2 separate regions of the Homo sapiens genome follow, and region 1 is linked to region 2. The links are contacts of gene promoters, found by promoter capture Hi-C in human tissues and cell types (Jung and others, 2019). All regions are on one chromosome and are shown on one strand. Each heading gives the region's core, a stretch centred on a gene start or on the middle of the fragment in contact. The rest is flanking DNA. Distances are from core to core; before and after follow the strand shown. Region 1 overlaps RUNX1 (RUNX family transcription factor 1). Region 2 holds the start of CLIC6 (chloride intracellular channel 6).

The links. The method cuts DNA at HindIII sites, captures the fragments that hold promoters and counts their contacts. A contact is called where the count stands out against the background at its distance.
Region 1: a contact is called between a fragment that was not itself captured here and the fragment with the promoter of CLIC6 in region 2, in 1 of the 25 tissues and cell types used here (lymphoblastoid cells).

What each region holds. Positions count from the first base shown.
Region 1 is chr21:34,878,421-34,885,080 of GRCh38, reverse strand. RUNX1 (RUNX family transcription factor 1) reads left to right here. Exons shown (of 9, transcript NM_001754.5): 5 at 4,368-4,524. RUNX1-AS1 (RUNX1 antisense RNA 1) reads right to left here. Exons shown (of 2, transcript NR_186614.1): 2 at 29-1,598. Among named protein-coding and RNA genes, the nearest start is that of RUNX1-AS1, 45 kb to the right of the region's middle. RefSeq lists a silencer at 2,109-2,158. The HindIII fragment of the contact is 5,344 bases long and covers 2,242-6,660 here.
Region 2 is chr21:34,664,223-34,670,878 of GRCh38, reverse strand. CLIC6 (chloride intracellular channel 6) reads right to left here and starts at 1,885. Exons shown (of 6, transcript NM_053277.3): 1 at 117-1,885. The coding sequence starts at 1,490. RefSeq lists silencers at 173-252, 1,153-1,592. The HindIII fragment of the contact is 4,429 bases long and covers 1-3,246 here.

The DNA.
Region 1 (6,660 bases), core at 3,664-6,163, 210 kb before region 2:
TCTTCAGGAATTGGAGCAATTCAGAGTCTCAAGCCATTACATGAAAGTATTTATTTTCTTCTAAAAAATGAAAAATTATACATATTGCTTTTATGAGCTGTCAGAATTCTTTCTAGCAGAAACCATAATAACCATAGAGTTTCCTTTTTAAAATGACTTTTGGCAATTCACTTAAAAACAATTAATTTGTTTTATTGAGTGATAATCTATAGGCTACTAAAAATCCAAATACAGAGCTCTTGAAAAAAGTTCAAGCAGATCCCCTGAGAACATTTAGGGGAAAGGAAAGGATAGCAGAGAAATCAGACCATTTGATTATTGTCTGTCACCACCCCAATCCTCATAAAAAGAGGCTTCTTCCTGGAGGAGACCTGCTCACTGCATAACTAGAAGAGTAGACAAAATGTTCAGTGAGACAGTAAACGTGAAGGGATAAAATGTTAGGGATAAAAGCAAGCAAAACATCAAAACCTGCCTACATCCCGGGCTCATTTAGTGTGTGTCCCTGGCTTCACTCTATCTGCCCACCCAACCACCTCACAAGCAGCTTCAACAGAAATTATTACTTTAAAATTTGGATCTTAAATAAGCCGCAGGCAATCTCCCTAGGAAGTTAACCAGTAAATAATTATTATATTCCCTATGGTAAAGAGAAGCAAATGTGAAACAATGATAAGGCCTGATGATATTGATGAAAAGATCACTGAAGGCCTTCTTAGGAATCTCCTGAAGTTCTGTAGGTAAATCCTCTACGTCAATCTTCTGAACTAAAGAGAGATTTAAAATTATGAATTTTCTTTAAAATAGATTACAATAACCCTACTTGCTTATTTTGAGCCCCAACCTGTTCTCCCCCTACTCCTTCCCTCCCATGGAACACCTTTATTTTTTACAGTATGAGAGATACATGTTTTTTACTACTAAGAAAACCTTAAGTTTGCTGTGTGTTTTGCTGTACTTACAGAATTAGCCTAAAAAGCTGTTTTGATGACTTAGGATGTATTTGGTAATACCATGGTGTTATAGCTTGTTCAGGCCCTGGTACACCAGAGTCCAAAGACGTAAACGTGCCTTCAGCAGGGAAGTTCGGAGGTCTTGGATTCTGATGGTAATATTCTTTTCATAAAAAGGAAATAAGTAATATTTTTGTCGGCAAGATCACAGTCCCTAGCTATGCCTTAAATATCATCTCAGCTGAATTCTGTGTTCCACTCCACAGCCTTCTTTGCAACACTGGAAGGTTAACGGATTTGAAGTAAATGAATTGTAACTGTAATTTCAACCTAATTAGAATTGGTTTAAAATGCCAGTTTGGACCGTGAACAGGCTAGCCAAGAACAGTATTGGGAGGTCCATGTAATATAGAAGAGAGTTGATATTTGGCCCAACTTCCTGATACTTTAAAAACAGAGAAGTAAAACAAAATATGAGATATCTTTGGCCAGCAAGTCCCTTCTTGCCTGTTTGGTCTGTGTTAAAATGTAAATGTTTGTGTTTCCTTACCTATTGTTTATAGCTTTTCATTCCAGTTGTTTCTTTTTTCTGTTTGAAGTTAGATATTTTTACATTCTCTCCATATTGCCCATCAGTGACAAAACCTGTATCAAATTAGCACGCATGTTAGTTTTGAATTAAAAAGAAACTTTTTAAACCTGGCTTAAGTATGCTTGTTAACAATTGGACGATATACAGTATTAATGAATTGCCCTGGATTTACTAGTTCCCCTTTACCCACCCGCCTCCACCAAAAAAAAACCCTCAGAGATCAATACAAGGCCAAGTGAATGATATGTAGGTGCCCAAATATGGTTGATTCTGCTGCATTTAAAAAAAAAGAGGAGTGGGAGTTAAACTTCTAATTTTTTTCTTCTTAAGTTCCAACATCAACAGCCTTTTCTTATTTAGCCTCCATGATAATTTTATTCTATGTTTGTTTCGACTTGGCGAAGGTCTCCTGAATTTGCCAAATTACCAATGAGGATAGTATTGGAAAGATGAGAGAGGCACAGGCTTGGAGCACTGTGAGGGGAACAGCAGTAGGAGGCAGATAATTCAGAATACATTCCTGTAGTTATAAAAGAAGATTTATTTATTTTCACCTTTTTACAGATCCAGACCCAACAATGAGTTATTCAGTTTGAAACCCACGTAGTGGAGGCAGTCTCTGTATACCTGCTGAATGTTGAGTTACAATAGAGAAGCCTGGGTTACCACAGGGAGAGGAGGATGAGGAAGTAAAAATATGTGTTCAAAGAGGGCATTTCAACACTGTGAGCTAACTTTACAACGGGAAGTGAAAATCATGAAAAAAAGGGGAAAATTTGTTGTGAGAGACTAAAAAGAGCAAAATAAAGCAAGCCCATTTTTCGGGAATAGAAAAAAAAAAAAAACAGTAGCAATAACCAAATAACTGATCAGGGAGATTTATTTCCGTGATATCTTTTTAAAACAAAAAGGGAATTGTCGTATCACTGCTCTTAATTAAATGGCAACAAACACACTTATAATGGGAACTAAATAGCTAATTAGAGGGTGCTTGGGGAATAAATAGCAGAGTTTTAAAATCTCCTATATGGAAAACATGTCCAACAATTGGAATGAAAGGATTAAAAAGAGAGAAAAGGCCCAGACCTTGTTTGGCAGTGCAAGTTGGATAAAATAGAGGAAAATGCCTCCCTGCTTCTATGAGACTAGATTATCCTGGTGTAGTCTTGGGGTTGGAAGTATGTTCATCTCTCATAGTGAGTTAGTTCGTGTTCTGTGCCACAAGGACTGAAGCAGTTCTAATGAATAAAAACAATAGATAGTCATCTGGAGGCCACAGGGAAAGGGTGATGGCTAAGCAGATCATGAAAATGGGAATCTTGAGAAACATGACTTCGATATCATACAAGTGAGTCTATGGCAGCCTTTTTTACATATAGAAAAAGAGGCCTGAAAATATATACTACAAAAAATTATGTAGCAGTTATTAAGGTAAAAATTGGGAAGTAGGAGGCAGAGGAAGGAGTGATAACACTAGATTAAGGAATGCTTTACTGTTACCAATTCAAAAACAGCAACCAAAAATGATGATGTAATTGGAATGAGTAATATAAATGTCACTACTGACTTTACCGTAAAGAATGTCAGAAATGATCAGAATAAATACAGCTTGGGGCATTTCGATTTGAAGTTGTATGACTGCTTTGAAAAATAGAAACAAAGGAAATACAGCCAATAGTAAATGTCTAGACCAAGAAAATAGTTTCTAGAAGGCCTAAATGATAGCCAAGAAATTGATGCTATTGTACAAAGTATCTTTAGGTCATGCTTTTCAGAGTATTTTACTTTGGAATTCATTTTCTTAATTACCTGAGTATAAAAACATTTATCTACCAGTTTTCTCCAATAGCCCTGATAAGACTTCATACTTACTCAGTTACATTAAATAAATTCCTGGTCAAGATCAGCTGGGCTAGCAGAAAACCTCAGGCATCTGTGAGGACATGAGTTTACACACGCTGAGACTCACAGATACAAAAATGCAACCCAATTCCACCCCTGAATTGAGGGGAGTGCATAGAAGTGAATGTCCCGTCTTTCTGAGGTCTGTTGATTTTGTAATTAGTAAACGAAGGGTGCATTTCTGATTTTTTTTTCTTGTGTGCTAGAATTCATTGCTAGTAAAACTCAAGATAATAGCGATGAGTAGGAGGTATCAAAGATGAACTGTAGAGGGACAGTTTAAGTTACTTAAGAATCGTCAGCAAGATGAAATCTACTTTTAGCAGAAATTGGGTTTTTTTGTGTTTTTTTGTTTTGTTTTATTTTCTAAAAGTAAAGTCTGCACCTTGTTCAGCCTGTTAGTGGAGGTCTGAGCAAGTAAAAGATGGGTTGGATTATAAACTTACAAACACAGGATGTTCTGTTTCTCAAACGGGAGAAATTAAGAAGAGATGCTTGTATTCAGGAGACGGCATAGCTACTCAAAATCCTTGATATCTTGCTATGGTTAGTCTTGTTCCAACTGTGCTATGTGACCTACTATGGCTTTATGAGGTAAATTTAGTATATGTGTCACTATTTGAAAATTTACATATAGTTATACATAATGTATTAGGTTGGTGCAAATGTAACTGCAGTTTTTGGAGTTAAAAATTGCAAACACTGCAATTACTTTTGCACCAACCTAAAATATAATAAAAAAGTGTCTTCTCTTTATAACTTTTCTGTTGTTTTGCTTAAGTTATCATTGCTATTCCTCTGCAACCTAAAAAGAAATCATTGAATATACATTTAATTTTAGAATAATCACTACACAAATGCCCTAAAAGTGTATGTATAACATCCCTGATGTCTGCATTTGTCCTTTGACTGGTGTTTAGGTGGTGGCCCTAGGGGATGTTCCAGATGGCACTCTGGTCACTGTGATGGCTGGCAATGATGAAAACTACTCGGCTGAGCTGAGAAATGCTACCGCAGCCATGAAGAACCAGGTTGCAAGATTTAATGACCTCAGGTTTGTCGGTCGAAGTGGAAGAGGTACGTTATCTGTCAAAACTATGCTTGAAACACGTTTCATGGCAACAAACCCACATTTCAAAATTCTAGTGATTTCTGTGATGGAATCCCTAGAAACTCGGTCTGTCTTAACATTCTTATTGCTATGTCAAGCTCTTAAAAATATTTATTTGAAGTTTAATATTTTTAGCAGAATCTCTATATTATTGCTTTATGTTACTGAGTGGATTTAAGACTGATTTGGAACATGCAACGTAGGAATTGTGAATTTCAAAGAAACGCCTGAGATTTTTACTAAAATGCAAAAAATATAAAACTGACTTTAATGAAACTAGGATTATACAATTACAATGAGGATTCTCTCTTGGATAACAATACAAAAGCTATTTAATGGAAACTGTTGACGTATGATCTGTGGGCTATCTGTGAAAAGTGACAGAGTTTCGAATGACCACTTCTAATAATTTTAGGGATTTCTAGTGTATGATGTTGAAACATGGTTTCAAGCAAGCTTACCTTTTTAGAAAAAGACATGAAGAAATAATGTTAGTACCATTGATGGCAGTATGATCTTCCTGTTGTATTTCTTTTCAATGCCTTATTTAGGAGGAGGGGTTGGGCCTGGTTAGCATTTTAGATACTAATAATATTAGAGATTGGATTATCCAAGAAATTGTTGCATTACTTCAGCTCCATGTGTGATTTTATTTTTCCTTGCCTTTAACTCATTATCAAAGCATTAGAGCAGAAATAGGAATCTTGGCTTATTGTAATTTTTTCTGGTTTCCAATTATTTTCAAGTATTATGTTTTCTTTACATTGTAAGAACCAAATCATATTTTATAAATAGCAACAAGTAGTAAAAGTTTAGTTGAGGGAGGTAAGATAGTTTTTTAAACTCATTTTTTGTAATATAGTACCGATTAAGCTTACAAATAAGTTATTTCAAGTATAATAAAAAGACTTATGGTAAATACCTAAATAACAGTAATAGTTCTCGTATTGAAAAAAATGGAAGCACCAATCAAACAACATTTAAAATAAGAGAAATTATTACTCTTTAAAAAGGCATTTAAAAACAAGAAAATCTCAGTTCTCAGAGAATTTGATTAGTCAGAAAGGAGAAAGGGGTAAATGTGAGTTGATTATTTTGGTGATTATTTTTGCTATCCTAGCTATCTGGAGCATTTTCATAATAGAATCATAGCTGGAGAAAATAAAAAATTTATATAATGTGATTGAAAATATATATTCATAGTACTATATTAATAATAGGGTAATGCAAAGAAAATTATATCCACTTTTTGAAAGCATGAGTGATGCTATAAGATATAAAAGCATAAGTCATTAAATGGGTTCACTTGTTGTATTAAAAGTCCCCACCTTTCAGTAAATGGAATTTGCATTATGATTCAGAGATGTGTGTCTAGAAAACATCTTAAAGGCTTCGGATGAGTAGCTGGCAGAGTGGGTGAGAAGCCAATAAAAAACAAAGGCCCCACAGCCTGGTCCATGCCCATCGGCCTAGCTAACTCTCTTAATTCAGTTCTTGTGGATTTCTGCTGTTAGGAATCAATAGCTAAGTATCATTGAATTGCTTTTCTAGAGAAAGTGTTATCATCATACTATGCATCTGTGTGGGTCTTCAAGTTAGGTTTTGGTCATAAAAGTTTTAAAAACTATTTAGTGATCCGTGCCAGTGACATTTTCCCACAAGAAGTTCAGTAGTGGCTTTCCGGCAATGCACAGTAAACCAGTGATAATAAAAAAATGAGATTTTGAAAGCAGTGTGCTTTCTTTTCTGGCATTGATGGCTGATCTTGCATCCCTCATTGACCATTTCTGTTTTGAGTGGGTGACTAATAGGTGCTTGTGTTTACTTGGGTAACAGTGAACTGTTTCCCCAAGGTGTGGAGTGTTTGCATTTGGCTGCAGGATTCGTGCCAGTATGCCCTTGAGTTTGCATAAACCCCAAAAAGTAAAATAGCTGCAACCAAGGCTGGGCTGTCTTCCCATACTCTGGAATGAGAAAATTAATTGAAATGCCATAAACAGACAATATTTTGAACAGACTCTCCTTCCCACCAGTGATAATAAGCAATAAAAAATACGGAAACCCTAATGGAACATTTGACCCAATTGTAATTACTGTGGATA
Region 2 (6,656 bases), core at 636-3,135:
GATGACAATCAGGATACCACCAAGGGTTCCTCCCTGCGCGTCCCTCTGGGATCTGAGATGACCAAGACCTCGAATGGAAGGGGGTCGTCCTAAGAATTGAGGGAAGCGAGCTTTACCTTGACGAAGAGGGTGATGTCGTGCTCCTGCCCCAGGGCCCGGGGCTCGGACGCCTCTCCGTCCTCCCGGCGGCCGTTCACGCGCGCGGCCTCGCCGCTACCCTCGGCGGGGCCCTCCTCGGCCAGGTGGTTGCTGAGCTGGGCCTCAGGCTCCGCGGCGCCCCTGGAGGCCTCCCCATGTGGGCTGCTGTCGGGGGATTCCTCTTCGCCCCCCGCTGCTTCCTCCTCCCTTGGCCCCTCCGGGCTCCGCTCTCGTCTCTCTTCGTCCTCCCCCGGCTCCTGCTGTGGCCCATCCCCTACCCTGTCCTCGCCAGCGTCTGCCCTTGCGTCCCCGGGGGCCGCTTCTTCGGACCCCTTTACCCCCGGGACCTCCGCCTCCTCCGCTGCGTCCCAGGCGAGCTCACCGGGGCTGCGCCCCGCACTCTCCCCGGCTGCGACCTCAATTGCCTCGGCCTGGGGCGAGAGGCTGCCGTCCCCCGATTGCTGCGGCTCACCCGAGACCCGGCGCGCCCTTCCTGCCGGACCCTCGGCGTCCATGCTGTCCCCCGCCGGGCCTTCGGCTTCTACGCTGTCCCCCGCCGGGACCCCCGCTTCTACGCCGTCCCCCGCCGGGTCCCCCGCCTCTACGCTGTCCCCCACCCGGCCCTCCGCGTCTACGCTGTCCCCCGCCGGACCTTCCGCGTCTACGCTGTCCCCCACCCGGCCCTCCGCGTCTACGCTGTCCCCCGCCGGGCCCTCGGCTTGTATGTTGTCCCCCAGCGGGCCCTCCGCGTCTACGCTGTCCCCCGCCGGACCTTCCGCGTCTACGCTGTCCCCCACCCGGCCCTCCGCCTCTACGCTGTCGCCCGCCGGGCCCTCCGCTTCTATGTTGTCCCCCAGCGGGCCCTCCGCGTCTACGCTGTCCCCCGCCTCCCCGGACGCGCTACCTTCCGGGACCTCAGGCCTCTGCTCCGCCTCCTCCTGCCTCTCGGGGGCCGCAGAGTCCTCGGGCTCCCTCTGAGCCTCCCCGCGGGGCTCGCCCTGCGCGCCGCGTCCCGGGCTCGCCCCCTCCACCTGCTGCGCGCCGCTTGTCTCCTCCCCTCCTTGGGGCACCTCGGCACCCTCCGGGGCTCCCTCCTCGGCCTCAGTCTCGCCGTGCGCCCCCCTCGTGCCCCGCGCCTCGGCCTCCGGGCCCCTGTCTGGCCCGCCGCCTCCTGCCTCCTTCACAGCGGCGGCGCCCCTCGGCGCCTCCTCTGCGCCCTCGCTCCCCTCCGGCCCTTCTGCCTCCCCGCCCGCGGCTCCTGGCTCTCCGGGTCTCTCAGCCAGAGGCGCGGGGACCTCCGGCGGCCCCTGGGGACCCGGGGCAACCCCCTCCGGCTCCGCGGCCTCGGCCATGGCCGCAGATCCCTGTCCTTGATCGGGACTCCTTCCTTGACGCTGCTTAAGGGTCGGTGGCGCTGGGCAAGGGGCGTGCTACGGGGCCCTCTGTGCTCCTTGAAGGACGCCGGCTCCGGGATCCTGCGGCAAAGGTTTAGCCGGGGCACTGGGGCCTTGCGCAGGACCCGCAGGGCAAACTCCGCTTGGCCCCAAGCCTCTGCGCCCCTTCTGCCCAGCTGAAACTCCCTGGACTCTTCCTCCACTGCTGGAGCTTCTCCCCGATTGCGCGTCTGCTTCCCACCGGGACCCCAATCTCGCCCGCGGGCCGCGGAGGTGCAGTGCACGGCTGGAGAGGGCTGCTTCGCTCCTGCGCCTTTGGAAGTGCCCGGCCCGCTGTCCGCTGTCCTGGGGTTGACCAGAAGTCCTTGGTGCCAACTCCATCCCCTGGGGCTTGGGCGGGGTTTGTCTTCCCCTCCTCCCTCCTTTGTTTGGGTAGCCTAGGAGCTTGGCCAATGACAGCCTTTCTCGTGACCCTTGTGGATGTTGATGAAAAGATTCTGGTTCTCCTGGCCGCTTGGGTGTTGTTCTCTAGAATGGCTTCAAGTTCCAGAGTCACTTAAATCACCCCCTCCAAACACACACCCCGACACCCAAACACCTAATCCCCACCTTACCCCAGGAGTGAAGCATCAAGCTCCCCCGGTACCCAACTGAAGATGTCCACATTGTGCCTGATGTCCAAGAGCAAGGGTGTAAATCCCTGAGAGAAGAAGCTGGGGAGGCTACGCTGGCCGCCTTCCCATGTCTGCAGGGCCCCCGGAGAGGTTCCAGAGGCCCCTCATATAGACGCACAAGGAGCCAGTCGAGTTTCTCTGACCAGAGATGGGCGCTGTTGTCCATGAGGGTCCGCTTCTCCGGGCCTGTCTGGAGGATCGTGGGAGCCCTGCGCTGGAAAAAGGTTACACCTTCATCTCCCGGGTCTCTTAAGACTGTAAGAGTCTGTGTATCTTGCTGATTCTCCTAGATTTCTAAACTCACCACCAGTGCTTCTGCCTCCAAGTTAAGAGCTTGGGAATCTGGAGGTGGAGAAAAGAAAATCCAAGATGTGAAAGAGGGGAGCTATGGAATTCCCTGGGTTAGGGTTCTCCCAGGATCACAGACCCAATACCTACTTTAAAAAGGAAGTTATTATGGTGAAAAGTATGTCGTAAGTTTATTATAAGCCAGGCTACTTCTAGTGGGTTACCAAGAAACTGGGTTACCCAAGGTGGCACTATGTAAATGTGGTGGAACGGGGATCCCAGCTCAAGACTGACTTGATTCATCAGGCTTTATATGGCTTTGATATTGGCCTAAGATACATGAGCCCCTCATGCCCACAGAAGGTTGTTTTCGTTGAAAGAGCTGGGTGTGCCTTTGATGTGGCTTGGGGTCACACCTTTGGCCATGAACATAATGTGTCTCCTTCTACTTCCCATTGCTCATCACTGATGGATGACAGGACAGGAGCCCAGAGACACTCAGCTTCATGCTACCTTTCTCCAAGGCTGTGCTCTGTCTGGGTAGGTACAGGCCAGAAGCTTCATCACCACAAAGTGGCATCTAGTCAAAGCATGACACTCACACAGGTGAGCCAGAGATGCACGTGAGCCGTAAAAGCTCTAGGCACCTAGAAAAGGAATCCTGCTGCATTCACCGGGGCAAGGTAGCAGCCATCACCCTTATCTTGTAAAGAAAGATGAAGCCAGCACGTTCAGCCCGGAACAGCAAACACAGTACAGGTTTACAGTGCTTTATGCAAATCCCATGAGCCCGGATGTGTTTCAGAAAACAGAATTGTTAGAAAGATGATTGAGTGATTTTACTGTATATTACATAACACAGAACATCACTTTGTGATCAAACACATTAATATTTCTGCAGTAAGACAGGCATCACATTTGGTGAGATATGGTAAAATCATACAAGCTTCAGGCCCCCCACCCCCAGTTTAGGTTCACCTCCAGCTGAGTTCAAGCCTTTCTGGTTCTGATTCTAGATGAGTTCCCAAAACAGCTTTCAGTATTCAGAGCCTTTTAGGATTTCAGAATGTGTATAAAAGGATTGTGGACCTGTGAACCATTGAAGGGCTCTGGGTTTATTTGCGCTGCTTAGAAAAATGTGAGATTAGTTAGATACATAACTTTGTCCTTAATAACAAACCGTCTTCAATGCTCAATGTTTACAAAGAACCAAATTAAAGACACTCATGCGAGTAATAATATTTAGCAAATTCTTTTAGCAAAGTCAGTAGATAAGAATTTCTGTCAATAGAGTGTCTTGTGACATTAGCTTACCCCCCAAAGTATAAAACTAACTGAGGAAAGTATTTTCCAAAACTAGTTCAGGTTGGTGCATATGTATTTGAAGGCACGTGTGTATTCAGTCATTCAGGAAATATTTCATAAACTCTAACTCAATCAAACTTGATAGAAATGTGCTGGCTATTGGGGGGGGGTGTGGTTGGAATATCTAGAAAAACCTCCTTTTGAATTGAGCTAAAGATGATCAGCTACTGTTTGCAGACTTGGCACAGTCGGAAACAAAGCTGTTGGCTGAGTGGCTGAGAACTGGCCTGAATAATGTCCTTGCAGAAAAACAATGCTAATAAAGTCTATTCTGTCCTGGAAACTGATCCTGTGGATCACACAAGGCTATTTGATCTTATAGGGTTTGGATTTATTCTTTTATAGGGTTTGGGGTCATTTACTCACATTAACATTGGCTCTCAAAATAACATTCTGTCTGCAGAATGTAGAATTTTTCACTTAATGATAATAAGCATTTTAAAATTTTCTATTATATAATTTTGCAAATTTGTTCAATCTTCTGAAATTAAATAAAGTTTGTTTTTAAATAAATGCAGGCTCAATGCTGAAAATGCAGAAGACAGAAAATAACAGCTCCTTACAATTTTTCTGTAACCACATTACCGATAGCTAAATACTTTCTTTTAAGAGAGAAAGAGAAAGAGACAGATTGTTCCAGACACTGGATATACAGCAATAAACAAGACTGGGAAGGTCCCTCTTCAAATGGTATAAAGCAAAAAAAAAATAAAAATAAAATAAGTAAAAAAAGAAATGAGATAATTTTGGATAACATTAAGCTTTATGTAGACACATATGCCAACGTGTGCACAGACATGCCCAAACTGAAAACCTTAGCTCTTTTCTTCCAAACCCTACATCCAACCTGCCAGTAAATCCAACTGGCTTCACTTTTTAAAAATATATACCCAAAGCCAGGCATGGTGGTGCACCTGTAGTCCCAGCTACTCGGGAGGCTGAAGCAGGAGAATCACTTGCGCCCAGGAGTTCTAGACCAGCTTGGAAGCAGCATAGTGAGATGCCATCACTAGAAAGTACACAAACACACACACACACACACACACACTCACACACGTAAAATCCAACCTCTTCTCTCTATCTCCATTACCACTGTACCAGTCCAAGTCACCATCACCTCCTGTCACCTAGATTATTGCCACCACCTCCTAACTAGTTCCTGGCCTTCGACAGTCTGCTCTCCACTCCACAGCCAGCTGATCCTCTTTGGAAATCATGAATCAGACCATGCCACTTTTATGCTCAAAATCTTTCAAAGGTTTTCTGTCTCACAGTAAGAAAAAGTCAAGTCTTTATGCATGAAGTATAAGGTCCTATAAAATCAGGCAATCCCAGTCTCTTTCTGGCTTACTAGACTTCTGCAGCCCCTAAAACACCAGCCTGCTTGCCGTCCCTAGAACTTGCTGGGCCTCTGCCTGGGATGCCCCCTATATTCTCATGGCTTACTCCCTTACCTTGCTGCAGTCTCTGATTAATTATTTTCCCCAAGCACTCCATTTTACTTTTATAAAATGGCTAGAGTGCAGTGGTGTGATCTCGGCTCACTGAAGCCTCCAGCTCCCAGGTTCAAGTGATCCTCCTGCCTCAGCCTCCCGAGTATCTGGGACTACAGGCGCATGGCACCACATCCAGCTAATTTTTGTATTTTTTTTAGTAGTGATGGGGTTTCACCATGTTGGCCAGGATGGACTCGATCTCTTGACCTCGTGATCCGCCTGCTTTGGCCTCCCAAAGTACTTGGATTACAGGCATGAGCCACCATGCCCGCCCCAAGCATTCCATTTTAAAACACAACCCCTACTCTCTGGCATCCTTCTCTGCCTTATTTTCCCCCATAGCAGTTATCTTCATCTGACACATAATATATTCTAGTTGTTATCTGTCTGCCCTACCTCACCCCACTAGGATGGTGATTCTGTGAAAGCAGGGGTTTTTGCTTGTCATTGCCTAGGATAGACCAGGCACATAGTAGAGCTCCATAAATATTTCCTGAATGAGTGAATACACACGTGCCTTCAAATACATATGCACCAACCTGAACTAGTTTTGGAAAATACTTTTCTCAGTTAGTTTTATACTTTGGTGGGCAAGCTAATGTCACAAGACACACTATTCACAGAAATTCTTTTTTTTTTTTTTGAGACGGAGTCTCACTCTTTTGCCCAGGCCAGACGGCAGTGGTGCTATCTCGGCTCACTGCAAGCTCCGTCTCCTGGGTTCATGCCATTCTCCTGCCTCAGCCTCCCGAGTAGCTGGGACTACAGGTGCCCTCCACCACGCCCGGCTAATTTTTTGTATTTTTAGTAGAGACAGGGTTTCACCGTGTTAGCCAGGATGGTCTCGATCTCCTGACCTCGTGATCCACCCGCCTCGGCCTCCCAAAGTGCTGGGATTACAGGCATGAGCCACTTACAGAAATTCTTATCTACTGACTTTGCCAAAAGAATACTTTAGCAAATTCTTTTAATTATTAGCAAGGGCTCAGTCAGTTCATATAAAGGAACACAAAGGAAATACCAAATAAATAGACGTGTGAAGGTCGCTATGAAGTCACTTAGAGACGTGCACGTTGTTAACCTGGCCTCCAACACTAGATTAGCTATTTAAATACCAGGGAGGGTTAAACAGAGGTGACAGATTCAGAGGTGGATGACAAGAAATGAAAGCGTTGATATTTAAGTAACTTTTAATAATTATACAGTCCTTCTGCCATATATTATAAGGAATCATGAAGCAGGTAAACTCGGATTACAAGAAAACCTTAAGGGCTTATAAACAATGTAAGGGTTTGTTGCTT